2 separate regions of the Homo sapiens genome follow, and region 1 is linked to region 2. The links are contacts of gene promoters, found by promoter capture Hi-C in human tissues and cell types (Jung and others, 2019). All regions are on one chromosome and are shown on one strand. The core of a region is centred on a gene start or on the middle of the fragment in contact, and the rest is flanking DNA. Distances in the headings are between cores, read along the strand shown. Region 1 has its middle 43 kb from the start of SDR9C7. Region 2 holds the start of SDR9C7 (short chain dehydrogenase/reductase family 9C member 7).

Region 1 (6,456 bases), core at 1,656-4,155, 43 kb after region 2:
TTTTGTTAATTTTTCTGTTGAATAATTTAAATGCCTTGTTTTCCATGGGAATTATATCAGTGCCTAGAATCGCCCTGACTGGAAGCCCATTTTGTAATTATAGGTGTTAAGTGAGGCTTTGAGTGTGTGCATGTATGTATGTGTGTGTTCTTGAGCAGGACATTTATGAGTAGGAAAATCTTTTCTGGGGATACTTTGATTATTAAAATTAATGTTTGATTTGTTAAACTTACAACTAAAAACATATTTTTTCATAATTTGTTTAATCTATTTTATTTTATTTATACAATTTAGCAAATATTATCAATTTCTTTTTTTTGATAGTGAACATTTAATTTAAACCTGACAAAAAATACATCAATGCATATGCTACCAAGACTTAGTAATTAAATCATATTAGGATTGAGAAGCTCTTATTCTAGCATGATTTCTATATGAGCTGCCATATTGTTCACTTTGACTCTTTTTTTTTTATTGTACTTTAAGTTCTAGGGTACATGTGCACAATGTGCAGGTTTGTTACATATGTATACATGTGCCATGTTGGTGTGCTGCACCCATTAACTCGTCATTTACATTAGGTATCTCCCCTAATGGTATCCCTCCCCCTCCCCCTACCCCACGATAGACCCCAGTGTGTGATGTTCCCCATCCTGTGTCCAAGTGTTCTCATTGTTCAATTCCCACTTATGAATGAGAACATGCGGTGTTTGGTTTTCTATCCTTGCGATAGTTTGCTGAGAATGATGGTTTCCAGCTTCATCCATGTCCCTACAAAGGACATGAACTCATCCTTTTTTATGGCTGTATAGTATTCCATGGTCTATATGTGCCACATTTTCTTAATGCAGTCAATCACTGATGGACATTTGGGTTGGTTCCAAGTCTTTGCTGTTGTGAATAGTGCCGCAATAAACATACATGTGCATGTGTCTTTATAGTAGCATGATTTATAGTCCTTTGGGTATATACCCAGTAATGGGATGGCTGGGTCAAACGGTATTTCTAGTTCTAGATCCTTGAGGAATTGCCACTGTCTTCCACAACAGTCGAACTAGTTTACAGTCCCACCAACAGTGTAAAAGTGTTCCTATTTCTCCACATCCTCTCCAGCACCTGTTGTTTCCTGACTTTTTAATGATCGCCATTCTAACTGGTGTGAGATGGTATCTCATTGTGGTTTTGATTTGCATTTCTCTGATGGCCAGTGAAGATAAGCATTTTTTCATGTGTCTCTTCACTGCATAAATGTCTTCTTTTGAGAAGTGTCTGTTCATATCCTTTGCCCACTTTTTGATGGGGTTGTTTGATTTTTTCTTGTAAATTTGTTTAAGTTCTTTGTAGATTCTGGATATTAGCCCTTTGTCTAATGGATAGATTGCAAAAATTTTCTCCCATTCTGTAGGTTGCCTGTTCACACTGATGATAGTTTATTTTGCTGTGCAGAAGCTCTTTAGTTTAATTAGATACCATTGGTCAATTTTGGCTTTTGTTGCCATTGCTTTTGGTGTTTTAGTCATGGAGTCCTTGCCCATGCCTATGTACTGAATAGTATAGCCTAGGTTTTCTTCTAGGGTTTTTATGGTTTTAGGTCTAACGTTGAAGTCTTTAATCCATCTTGAATTAATTTTTGTATAAGGTGTAAGGAAGGGATCCAGTTTCAGCTTTCTACATATGGCTAGCCAGTTTTCCCAGCACCATTTATTAAATAGGGAATCCTTTCCCCATTTCTTGTTTTTGTCAGGTTTGTCAAAGATCAGATGGTTTTAGATGTGTGGTGTTATTTCTAAGGGCTCTGTTCTGCTCCATTGGTCTATATGTCTGTTTTGGTACCAGTACCATGCTGTTTTGGTTACTGTAGCCTTGTAGTATAGTTTGAAGTCAGGTAGCATGATGCCTCCAGCTTTGTTCTTTTGGCTTAGGATTGTCTTGGCAATGTGGGCTCTTTTTTGGTTCCATATGAACTTTAAAGTAGTTTTTTCCAATTCTGTGAAGAAAGTCATTGGTAGCTTGATGGGGATGGCATTGAATCTATAAATTACCCTAGGCAGTATGGCCATTGTCATGATATTGACTTTTCCTATTCATGACCATGGAATGTTCTTCCATTTGTTTGTATCCTCTTTTATTTCATTGAGCCGTGGTTTGTAGTTCTCCTTGAAGAGGTCCTTCACATCCCTTGTAAGTTGGATTCCTAGGTATTTTAATCCTTTGTAGCAATTGTGAATGGGAGTTCACTTATGATTTGGCTCTCAGTTTGTCTGTTATTGGTATATAGGAATGCTTGTTATTTTTGCACATTGATTTTGTATCCTGAGACTTTGCTGAATTTGCTTATCAGCTTGAGGAGATTTTGGGCTGAGACGATGGGTTTTTCTAAATATACAATCATGTCGTCTGCAAACAGGGACAATTTGACTTCCTCTTTTCCTAGGTGAATGCCCTTTATTTCTTTCTGTTGCCTGATTGCCCTGGCCAGAACTTCCAACACTGTGTTGAAAAGGAATGGTGAGAGAGGGCGTCCCTGCCTTGTGCCAGTTTTCAGAGGGAATGCTTCCAGTTTTTGCCCATTCAGTATGATATTGGCTGTGGGTTTGTCATAAATAGTTCTTATTATTTTGAAATACATCCCATCAATACCTTGTTTATTGAGTTTTTAGCATGAAGGGCTGTTGAATTTTGTCAAAGGCCTTTTCTGCATCTATTGAGATAATCATGTGGTTTTGTGTTTGGTTCTGTTTGTGTGATGGATTATGTTTGTTGATTTGCATATGTTGAACCAGACTTGCATCTCAGGGATAAAGCCAAATTGGTCTTGTTGGATAAGCTTTTTGATGTGCTGCTAGATTTGGTTTGCCAGTATTTTATTGAGGATTTTCACATCAATGTTCATCAGGGATATTGGTCTAAAATTCTCTTTTTTTGTTGTGTCTCTGCCAGGCTTTGGTATCAGGATGATGCTGGCCTCATAAAATGAGTTAGGGAGAATTACCTCTTTTTCTATTGATTGGAATAGGTTTATAAGGAATGGTACCAGTTCCTCTTTCTTCCTCTGGTAGAATTCGGCTGTGAATCCATCTGGTCCTGGACTTTTTTTTGGTTGATAGGCTGTTAATTATTGCCTCAATTTCAGAGTCTGTTATTGGTCTATTCAGGGATTCAAGTTCTTCCTGGTTTAGTCTGGGAGGGTATGTGTGTCCTGGAATGTATCCGTTTCTTCTAGATTTTGTAGTTTATTTGTGTAGAGGTGTTTATAGTATTCTCTGATGGTAGTTTGTGTTTCTGTGGGATCAGTGCTGATATCCCCTTTCTCATTTTTATTGTGTCTATTTGATTCTTCTCTCTTTTCTTCTTTATTAGTCTTGCTAGCGGTCTATCAATTTTGTTGATCTTTTCAAAAAACCAGCTCCTAGATTCATTGATTTTTTGAAGGGTTTTTGTGTCTCTATCTCCTTCAGTTCTGCTCTGCTCTTAGTTATTTCCTGCCTTCTGCAAGCTTTTCCATTTGTTTGCTCTTGCTTGTCTAGTTCTTTTGATTGTGATGTTAGGATGTTGATTTTAGATCTTTCCTGCTTTCTCTTGTGGGCATTTTGTGCTATAAATTTCCCTCTACATACTGCTTTAAATGTGTCCCAAAGATTCTGGTACATTGTGTTTTTGTTCTCATCAGTTTCAAAGACCATCTTTATTTCTGCCTTCATTTCGTTTTTTAGCCAGTAGTCATTCAGGAGCAGGTTGTTCAGTTTCCATGTAGTTGAGTGGTTTTGAGTAAGTTTCTTAATCCTGAGTTCTAATTTGATTGCACTGTGGTCTGAGGGACAGTTTGTTGTGATTTCTGTTCTTTTACATTTGCCGAGGAGTGCTTTGCTTCCGACTATGTTGTCAATTTTGGAATACGTGTGATGTGGTGCTGAGAGGAATGTATATTCTGTTGATTTGGGGTGGAGAGTTCTGTAGACGTCTATTAGGTCAGCTTGGTGCAGAGCTGAGTTCAAGTCATGGATATCCTTGTTAACCTTCTGTCTCGTTGATCTGTCTAATCTTGACAGTGGGGTGTTAAAGTCTCCCGTTATTATTGTGTTGGAGTCTAAGTCTCTTTTTAGGTCTCTAAGGACTTGCTTTATGAATCTGGGTGCTCCTGTATTGGGTGCATATATATTTAGGATAGTTAGCTCTTCTTGTTGAATTGATCCCTTTACCATTATGTAAGGGCCTTCTTTGTCTCTTTTGATCTTTGTTGGTTTAAAGTCTGTTTTATCAGAGACTAGGATTGCAACCCCTGTTTTTTTTTTGGTTTTTTTTTTTTTTTTTTTGCTTTTCGTTTGCTTGGTAGATCTTCCTCCATCCCTCTATTTTGAGCCCATGTGTGTCTCTGCACATGAGATGGATCTCCTGAATACAGCAAACTGATGAGTCTTGATTTTTTAATCCAATCTCCTGTCTGTGTCTTTTAATTGGGGCTTTTAGCCCATTTACATTTAAGGTTAATATTGTTATGTGTGAATTTGATCATGTCATTATGATGTTAGCTGGTTATTATGCCCATTAGTTGATGCAGTTTCTTCCTAGCATTGATGGCCTTTACAATTTGGCATGTTTTTGCAGTGGCTGGTACCAGTTGTTCCTTTCCATGTTTAGTGCTTCCTTCAGGAGCTCTTGTAAGGCAGGCCTGGTGGTGACAAAATCTCTCAGCATTTGCTTGTCTGTAAAGGATTTTATTTCTCCTTCACTTATGAAGCTTAGTTTGGCTGGATATGAAATTCTGGGTTGAAAATTCTTTTCTTTAAGAATGTTGAATATTGGTCCCCGCTCTCTTCTGGCTTGTAGAGTTTCTGTGGAGAGATCTGCTGTTAGTCTGATGGGCTTCCCTTTGTGGGTAACCCAACCTTTCTCTCTGGCTGCCCTTAACGTTTTTTCCTTCATTTCAACCTTGGTGAATCTTACAATTATGTGTCTTGGGGTTGCTCTTCTCAAGGAGTATCTTTGTGGTGTTCTCTGTATTTCCTGAATTTGAATGTTGGCCTGCCTTGCTAGGTTGGGGAAGTTCTCCTGGATAATATCCTGAAGAGTGTTTTCCAGCTTGGTTCCCTTCTTCCTGTCACTTTCAGGTACACCAATCAAATGTAGATTTGGTCCTTTCACATAGTCCCATATTTCTTGGAGGCTTTGTTCATTTCTTCTTATTCTTTTTTCTCTAAGCTTCTCTTCTCGCTTCATTTCATTCATTTGATCTTCAATCACTGATACGCTTTCTTCCACTTGATTGAATCGGCTACTAAAGCTTGTGCATGCATCACATAGTTCTTGTGCCATGGTTTTCAGCTTCATCAGGTCATTTAAGGTCTTCTCTACACTGTTTATTCTAGTTAGTCATTTGTCTAATCTTTTTTCAGTTTTTAGCTTCCTTGTGATGGATTTGAACATCCTCCTTTAGCTCGGAGAAGTTTGTTATTACCGACCTTCAGAAGCCTACTTCTGTCAACTCATCAAAGTCATTCTCCATCCAGCCTTGTTCCATTGCTGGCGAGGAGCTGTGGTACTTTGAAGGAGAAGAGTCCCTCTGGCTTTTAGAATTTTCAGCTTTTCTGCTCTGGTTTCTCCCCATCTTCATGGTTTTATCTACCTTTGGTCTTTGATGTTGGTGACCTACAGATGGGTTTTTGGTGCGGATGTCCTTTTTGTTGATGTTGGTACTATTCCTTTCTGTTTGTTAGTTTCCCTTCTAAAAGGTCCGTCAGCTGCAGGTCTTTTGGAGTTTTTCGGAGGTCCACTCCGGACCCTGTTTGCCTGTGTATCACCAGCAGAGGCTGAAGAATGGCAAATATTGCAGAACAGCAAATATTGCTGTCTAATCCTTCCTCTGGAAGCTTTGTCTCAGAGAGGCACCTGCTTGTATGAGGTGTCAGTCGGCCCCTACTGGGAGGTGTCTCCCAGTTAGGCTACACGGGGGTCAGGGACCCACTTGAGGAGGCAGTCTGTCTGTTCTCAGAGCTCAAACACTGTGCTGGGTGAACCACTGCTCTCTCTTCAGTGCTGTCAGACAGGGAAGTTTAAGTCTGCAGAAGTTTCTGCTGCCTTTTGTTCAGCTATGCCCTACCCCCAGAGGTGGAGTCTACAGAGGCAGGGAGGTCTCGTTGAGCTGTGGTGGGCTCCACCCCAATGTTATCAATTTCTTAAGGGGAACTTAAATTAATATTTCATTGTGTTAATTAAACTCACTTTAAAAACATAAACTGTGTTCATAAATTTAACATATTTAATTTTCTTTTAAAGTATGTCTTTAATAGAATTGTAAACAAAAGAAAATAAATAAATACAATTATCAATTGTATGACTGATAAACCCTAAATAAGCCTTATAAATCAAGTAATACAACATATAAATATGGCAAAGCCATGTTATCTTAAACTTTCTAATATGATTTATAATATAGCACAATTTTCTTTTATCTTAAAA
Region 2 (6,098 bases), core at 1,707-4,206:
TCTGCCTCCTGCTTCTTCCCCAGGTGTGCATCAACCTGGCCAGTCTATTACACTCTCTCCATGATGGAAATGGCCTGGAGGAAGTGGATGGGGGCTCCTCTGAATATACCTGTGGATAAGGTGTGGGGCGACAGGGCAGCCATCAGCCTGACCCCTAGACCTCAGGTGCCAGCTCTGGGGGCATTGGCTGGCAGTGGTGTTCTCGATAGGGATTCTGACAGAGGACACAGGAACCAATGTTTGACCCTCTTAAAACCATTGGCTGGCAGTGGTGTTCTCAATAGGGATTCGGACAGAGGACACAGGAACCAATGTTTGACCCTCTTGAAACCATGACCCTCAAAAAACCATCTGGTTACTTTAGTTCTAGAGCAAAAGCTAAAAAGTGCAGCCATGTGCAGCAAGTTGCCTTCTAGTCTGAGGGGAGCATGGGCTGTGAACAAGAGGGAGGAGGAGGCAGGTGCCTTCATGGGGATCTGGGGATAAGAGGGATGAACTCAGGAGGAAATTGAAGAGAGAAGTTGGATTATCCCTGCCCTGTCTCAGCCCTTTCTGCCACCAAGGTGAGGGGCAATTGTTTCCTTTCCAGGAGTGAATCAAGTAGCCTGGGGTCACAGGAGTGCACAGAGGGACAAGGAAGCAATGACATGTCACAAAGGCACTGGCAGGCCTCTTTGTAGCACTTTGTAGCGACCTCTTTGTAGCACTCAGTGACCGGCCCTCACTTTAACATCATTGCACTTGGGAGGGGTGCTGTTTCATGGGGTGAGAAATAGAGTGGTGGGAGGGAGCTCTCAAGTTCAGGGTCATGTACCTCACTTCCCTCACCTCTGTTCTAGTTTTTTTCTGGGACGTTATTCAGGACTCTGGTGATATTAGGAGGAAAGAACCACATTTTGCTGCTTAGGAAGGGAGACCCAATCACAGATAATGGCATCCCACTTCCTTGGGCTCTGAGCTTCATGGCCCACCTGTCAACCTGAAGAATCCACACTTGTGGAAGGTCTTGAGCAACTGGGGGTGGGTGAGCCCACACCTGCTCTTCCTCCTGTCTACCTCATCAGGGTGTGTCTTGGACCTCAGCAGTCTATGCTCTCCCACTGGAGGGAAATGGCCTGGCAGAGGAGAGGGCTCCTCTCCTCTGAGATACCTGTGTGCATGGGGTGGGGATGGGGAGTGCAGCTACCAACCTGACCTATCAGACCTTAGGGGCCAGCTTGGCAAGGAATGCTGTCATCTGAGAGAGGGAGGCATTTCTAGCCCTGGGAAGAAGAGCCTTCTATGTGGTCCTACCTCCCTCACACCCCCCACCCTCATGGACTGTGTGTTTAGTTTGAGGCCAGGGGAACACTGCCAGCATAGAGGCCCAGGAGGTGCTGAGTCAGGCCCAGGCCTGTGCTGGGGCAGTTCTGAGTTATCCTTATGCTAAGTCAGACCCAACTCCTGGACCTCACCTGTGTCCTCAAGGACTGGGATACCCAATGCCCCGGACCTGCTCAGTCTTGAGTGACATGGTCTGACCTGTTTCAGCCAAGACTTCTCTGTTCATTCACCCAGGAGGCAGACAGAGACTGGGAGATTGTTCCCAGATCCCGCATAGGAGGTGCTCTGCCTCAGGTTGGTTATGAAGTAGGTGTGGTTTGCTTTCTACCATTTCCCACCTCCATCCCCTATAAGCTTTAGGTCTGCTCTTTGGGGGTGGGTTCATAATCTGGCCCCCTCCCCTACTTTGTTAAGGAACGGCCAAACCCTGCGGGGCTTTCCCAGGGTGACACCTGCTTTATGTGATTCCACGCTGGTCAGACTTGGCAAATGGTGGATCACAGAGATACATCCTTTGTCCCTTCACACTAGAGAACTTTGTGGTCCCATTTCTGTGTCAGACTCGCTAAGCCATGAAGGTGTGAGCTAGGACCAGGCTCATCCCAAGGAATGGTGACCCTAGATGTTGATCCAAAGAACCACAGAGGCTCCAGCATCATTCCCTGCATCTTATGCAATTCTGGGTGTGGCCCCTCACTACTCACACCTCTGGTTTCCTTATTTCCTTTCCTTTACCACCTTACCTCTTAGCTTTCTGTAAATTATTTGCTAAATTGCCTAGAATCTCTGTTTCTCCTCCAAGTCCCGACCCTGAGAATTTTCTATGTCTCTGGCCCCAGTTCTCTGCTCCTCCTATATCTCATCCCCTCTTACAGTCAAGGCCTCTGCCCAGACAATTCCCTCAGCTGCCCAGTGAACTCATGATCCCTCCTCATCATCTTGCCCAGGGCTGCTTACTGGTGACCTGAGTATGACCCCCACAGGGTGTCAGGCCTGAGTCCCCCAGGTCTTTCTGCTTTCTGGTGGCTAAGCTTCACATGCCAGCCTCCCCTATAGGAGGGCCCTGCTGCCTCTAGCCTCAGGACAATGGAGGTACATCCACCCTAGGAGAAATCCATTGCTTTTCATCCTCTCTCATGATGGAGACTTACCTAAGAATTCCAGAGAGCTGATGACCTGCGACTTGTTTCTCTTGGGGTTTGGAAGGTACAGAACCAATGTTGTTTGTTTTACATTAATAAATTTGTCTTGAGTATTTTCCCTGAAAATAAACTTATTTACATACCTGCACTCACGACAAATGATTTTGATCCCTGGAGACCAAAATCCCCAGGCTGGGTTGGGGGCAGGGTGGGGACAGGATTTCTAGGGGAGCTGTCTGGGGTGAGTCCTCATCTTTCATTTGCCTGCCTTACACCGCCTGGGTGAGCCACCACTCATCACCAACATTACAAGTGGATTATTTCCAATTCTTGGCAGCTTTACCCATCAGGGCAGGGGGAGAGAGGGAGGCAGCTACCAGGGCTGTCAGAGGTGACAAGGCTTCAGGTTGGACTTGAATTTCTTGCATCTGGGCTAATTGCTGTGGTGATGCATCCACCTATAAAAATTACAGCGTGGCTCACCCAGGGACCTAGATTTGTTGCAAGCTGTGGGAGGAAGGAGAGTTCTTCTTCCAGGTGGTTTCCTGCAGACTGCCTGCTAGGGCTCAGAGGACCAGCTTCTTCCCTGCTGTCTCCTGAGCCCAGTCCCTCTTGGCCATCACATTCCCCTTGCCCTATGGCGGCCCTCACAGACCTCTCATTTATGTATCGCTGGTTCAAGAACTGCAATCTGGTTGGCAACCTCTCAGAGAAGTACGTCTTCATCACAGGCTGTGACTCTGGCTTCGGGAACCTGCTGGCCAAACAGCTGGTTGATCGGGGCATGCAGGTGCTGGCTGCTTGCTTCACTGAGGAGGGATCCCAGAAACTTCAGCGGGATACCTCCTATCGGCTGCAGACCACCCTACTGGATGTCACCAAGAGCGAAAGCATCAAGGCGGCGGCCCAGTGGGTGAGGGACAAAGTGGGCGAACAAGGTGGGGCGAATTACATTCTTTGGCTTTCTTGGTTTCTCCTTCTTCCTCTTCCTCTCTCCCGAAGCATCTGACAGTATCAGAGACCCTGATGTCCAGATTGGGTGGGAGGGGTGATGTAGGGAAAGGCCCCTGCCTCAATCTGATTGGAAGCCACTGCATGGTTTGGCCTGTTCACATGAAGGGGTGATTTCCCAAGGAAGTTTTCTGTCCTGGAAACTCAGAGAAACGGGAAAGAGGTCTCAATAGGAAGCGAGGGGGGAAGATGTGTTCTGTGTGTCCAAACCTCTAAAAATGGACGTGCCTGGCTGGGCGTGGTGGCTCACGCCTATGAGCCCAGCACTTTGGAAGGCCGAAGTGGGAGGATCATGAGGTCAAGAGATCGAGACCATCCCGGCCAACATGGTGAAACCCCATCTCTACTAAAAAGTATAAAAATTACCTGGGTGTGGTGGCACGTGCCTGTAGTCCCAGCTACTCAGGAGGCTGAGGCAGGAGAATCACTTGAACCCGGGAGGCGGAGGTTGCAGTGAGCCAAGATTGCGCCACTGCACTCCAGCCTCGTGACAGAGCAAGAATCCCTCTCAAAAAGAAAAAAAAGAAAAAAAAAGGATGTGCCTCTCTGATGTTTCAGCAGTCCTAACCATCAGCTCCTGGGGAAATACAAACACATTTCTTGTTGGGATCAGGATGGGGGAGGGGGAATGAGACAGGAGGCTGGATCCCATGAGTGGGTGCAGTTTGTCTCCTTGACTATGTCAGGCAGGGGAGAAAGAGATCTGGTCTCTTCTTGACATCATGGTGGGTGTTGATTTGACTTCAGGGCAAGTATGTATGTCACAGTGGCTGCTCCTATTGGGAAAGGAAGCTGTGGACTGGGGCTGGCCCAGGACTGTGTGGGGACCTGCCTCATGCACTTCCAGCACACAGGGTGTGGGCCCAGGAACAGGAGGAACAGGATGGCTGAGTTGCAGAAGCAGCAGACTAGAGGAAGTCCTCCCTCCTAAAGGAACTAGTCTGGAGCCCATGCGCAGGTCAGGGCAACAGAGCCCTGGAGCCAGGGGGATCTAGACAGTAACTCCCTGCTTGATTCTTCTCCTTAGCACTTATCACTAGTCAATGTACAATAGATTTTACTTATTTATTGTCTGTTTCCTCTGCTAGAATAAAGCTTCCTGGGGACAAGGATTTTTGTCCCTTTTATTTACTGTACATCCTTAGTACCTAGAATAATGTCTGGCACCTAGTAAGGTACTGAATAAATAGATTTGAGTGAGCTAATTAATTAATAATTCAGCAAGAGTGAGCCTCTGTCTTCAGCAGGCTGTCTCAGCCAGTTCCCTACATTCAGCCTTGAGCCACTTGCCTTAATACCTCACTTAGCATGTGAGTTTCCTGTTGCTATTGTAACAAATAACACAACTGTGGGGTCTGAAGACAATACAAACATATTATCTTGTAGTTGTGGAGGAGTAATGTCTAAAATAGGCCTCACTGATCTAAAATCAAAGTCAGCAGAGCTGTGTTCCTTCTAGAGGCTGTAGAGGAGAATCCGTCTCATCGACTTTTCCAGCTTCCAGAGGCAGCTGGCATCCCCTGGCTCCTGGCCTGCTACCTCCATCTTCAAGGCCCGCAAGGTTGGGCCCAGTCTTTTTCACACTTTTCTCAAGCTCTCTGATTCTCCGGTTTCTGCCTCTTTCCACTTAGGACTTGTGATTATATTGGGCTCACCAGGTTAATCCAGGATAATTTCCCGTGTTAGCTTCCTCCCTAACTTTAAGGACAATTAATTAGCAACCTCCATTCCACCTGCAACCTTAATTCCCCTTTCCCATGTAATCCAGCAGATTCACAGGTTCCAGAGATAATGAGGATGGGGACATCTTTGGGGGACCATTATTTTGCCTAAGCCACTTGGCAATATCCTGGTCTAAGAAACACTGGGAACTGGGGTGGGTAGGGGGATGGGAGAGGAAGTTCTTTCATGCTTTCTCATTGCTCCTGAATGGAGAAAGGCAGGGAGACTGGGTAGGGGCATGGCTTGGGTGGGGACCCCAGCCCTAGAGGGAGGGGTGGACTAGGATTTATGTTTGTGTTGAGACCTGCCCTCAGGAGACAGTGGGATGCGCCTGCAGAGTATCTTGGGGCTGCTGAGGCTGGGGCTGTGGTGCGAATCACCAGGCAGTAGGACTTGGGGAATCCTTGCATGAAGGAGCTGGAAGGGGTCCTTGAGGAGTGTTTAGAGGGGTTTACAGTAGAACCCCAATATGTAAAACAAATGAAAGGAGAGCTTCTCCTGCATTTTCCTCCCCCTAGAAGGCTTGCAAAATACAGCCTGGAAACAACTGTTTTAGTCTAATCTGATGAAGAGCCTGAGGCCCAGAGAGGGAAGTGACTTGTTCAAGGCTGGAGGTAAAACCAGGACTGGACCTGAAGCTCTTCAACCCTGGGCCCCTGCAGAGTTGAATGACAACACTTAGCATTATTTCTTTCCATTTGTACCAACCTAATTGAAATATCTCAAGGATAGTCCTCATCACATTTTCCATAATTATTTTATTTAAATATTTTATATATTTATTTATAAATATTATTATTTCCTTCTAGGCTTGTGAGTTCCTTGAGGGATAAGATGCTGTGTTGTTCATTTTATGTCTCCTTTGCCCTGTATTTTACTTTATTTTATTTTATATCGTTT

Evidence for each region. Contacts are between HindIII fragments. The study calls those that stand out against the background at their distance.
Region 1: a fragment that was not itself captured here is called in contact with the fragment with the promoter of SDR9C7 in region 2 in 2 of the 25 tissues and cell types used here (H1 embryonic stem cells and mesenchymal stem cells).

The regions. Positions count from the first base shown.
Region 1 is chr12:56,888,063-56,894,518 of GRCh38, reverse strand. No RefSeq gene overlaps it. Among named protein-coding and RNA genes, the nearest start is that of SDR9C7, 43 kb to the left of the region's middle. The HindIII fragment of the contact is 5,339 bases long and covers 236-5,574 here.
Region 2 is chr12:56,931,266-56,937,363 of GRCh38, reverse strand. It overlaps SDR9C7 (short chain dehydrogenase/reductase family 9C member 7), which reads left to right and starts at 2,956. Exons shown (of 4, transcript NM_148897.3): 1 at 2,956-3,403. The coding sequence starts at 3,103. The HindIII fragment of the contact is 4,226 bases long and covers 2,017-6,098 here.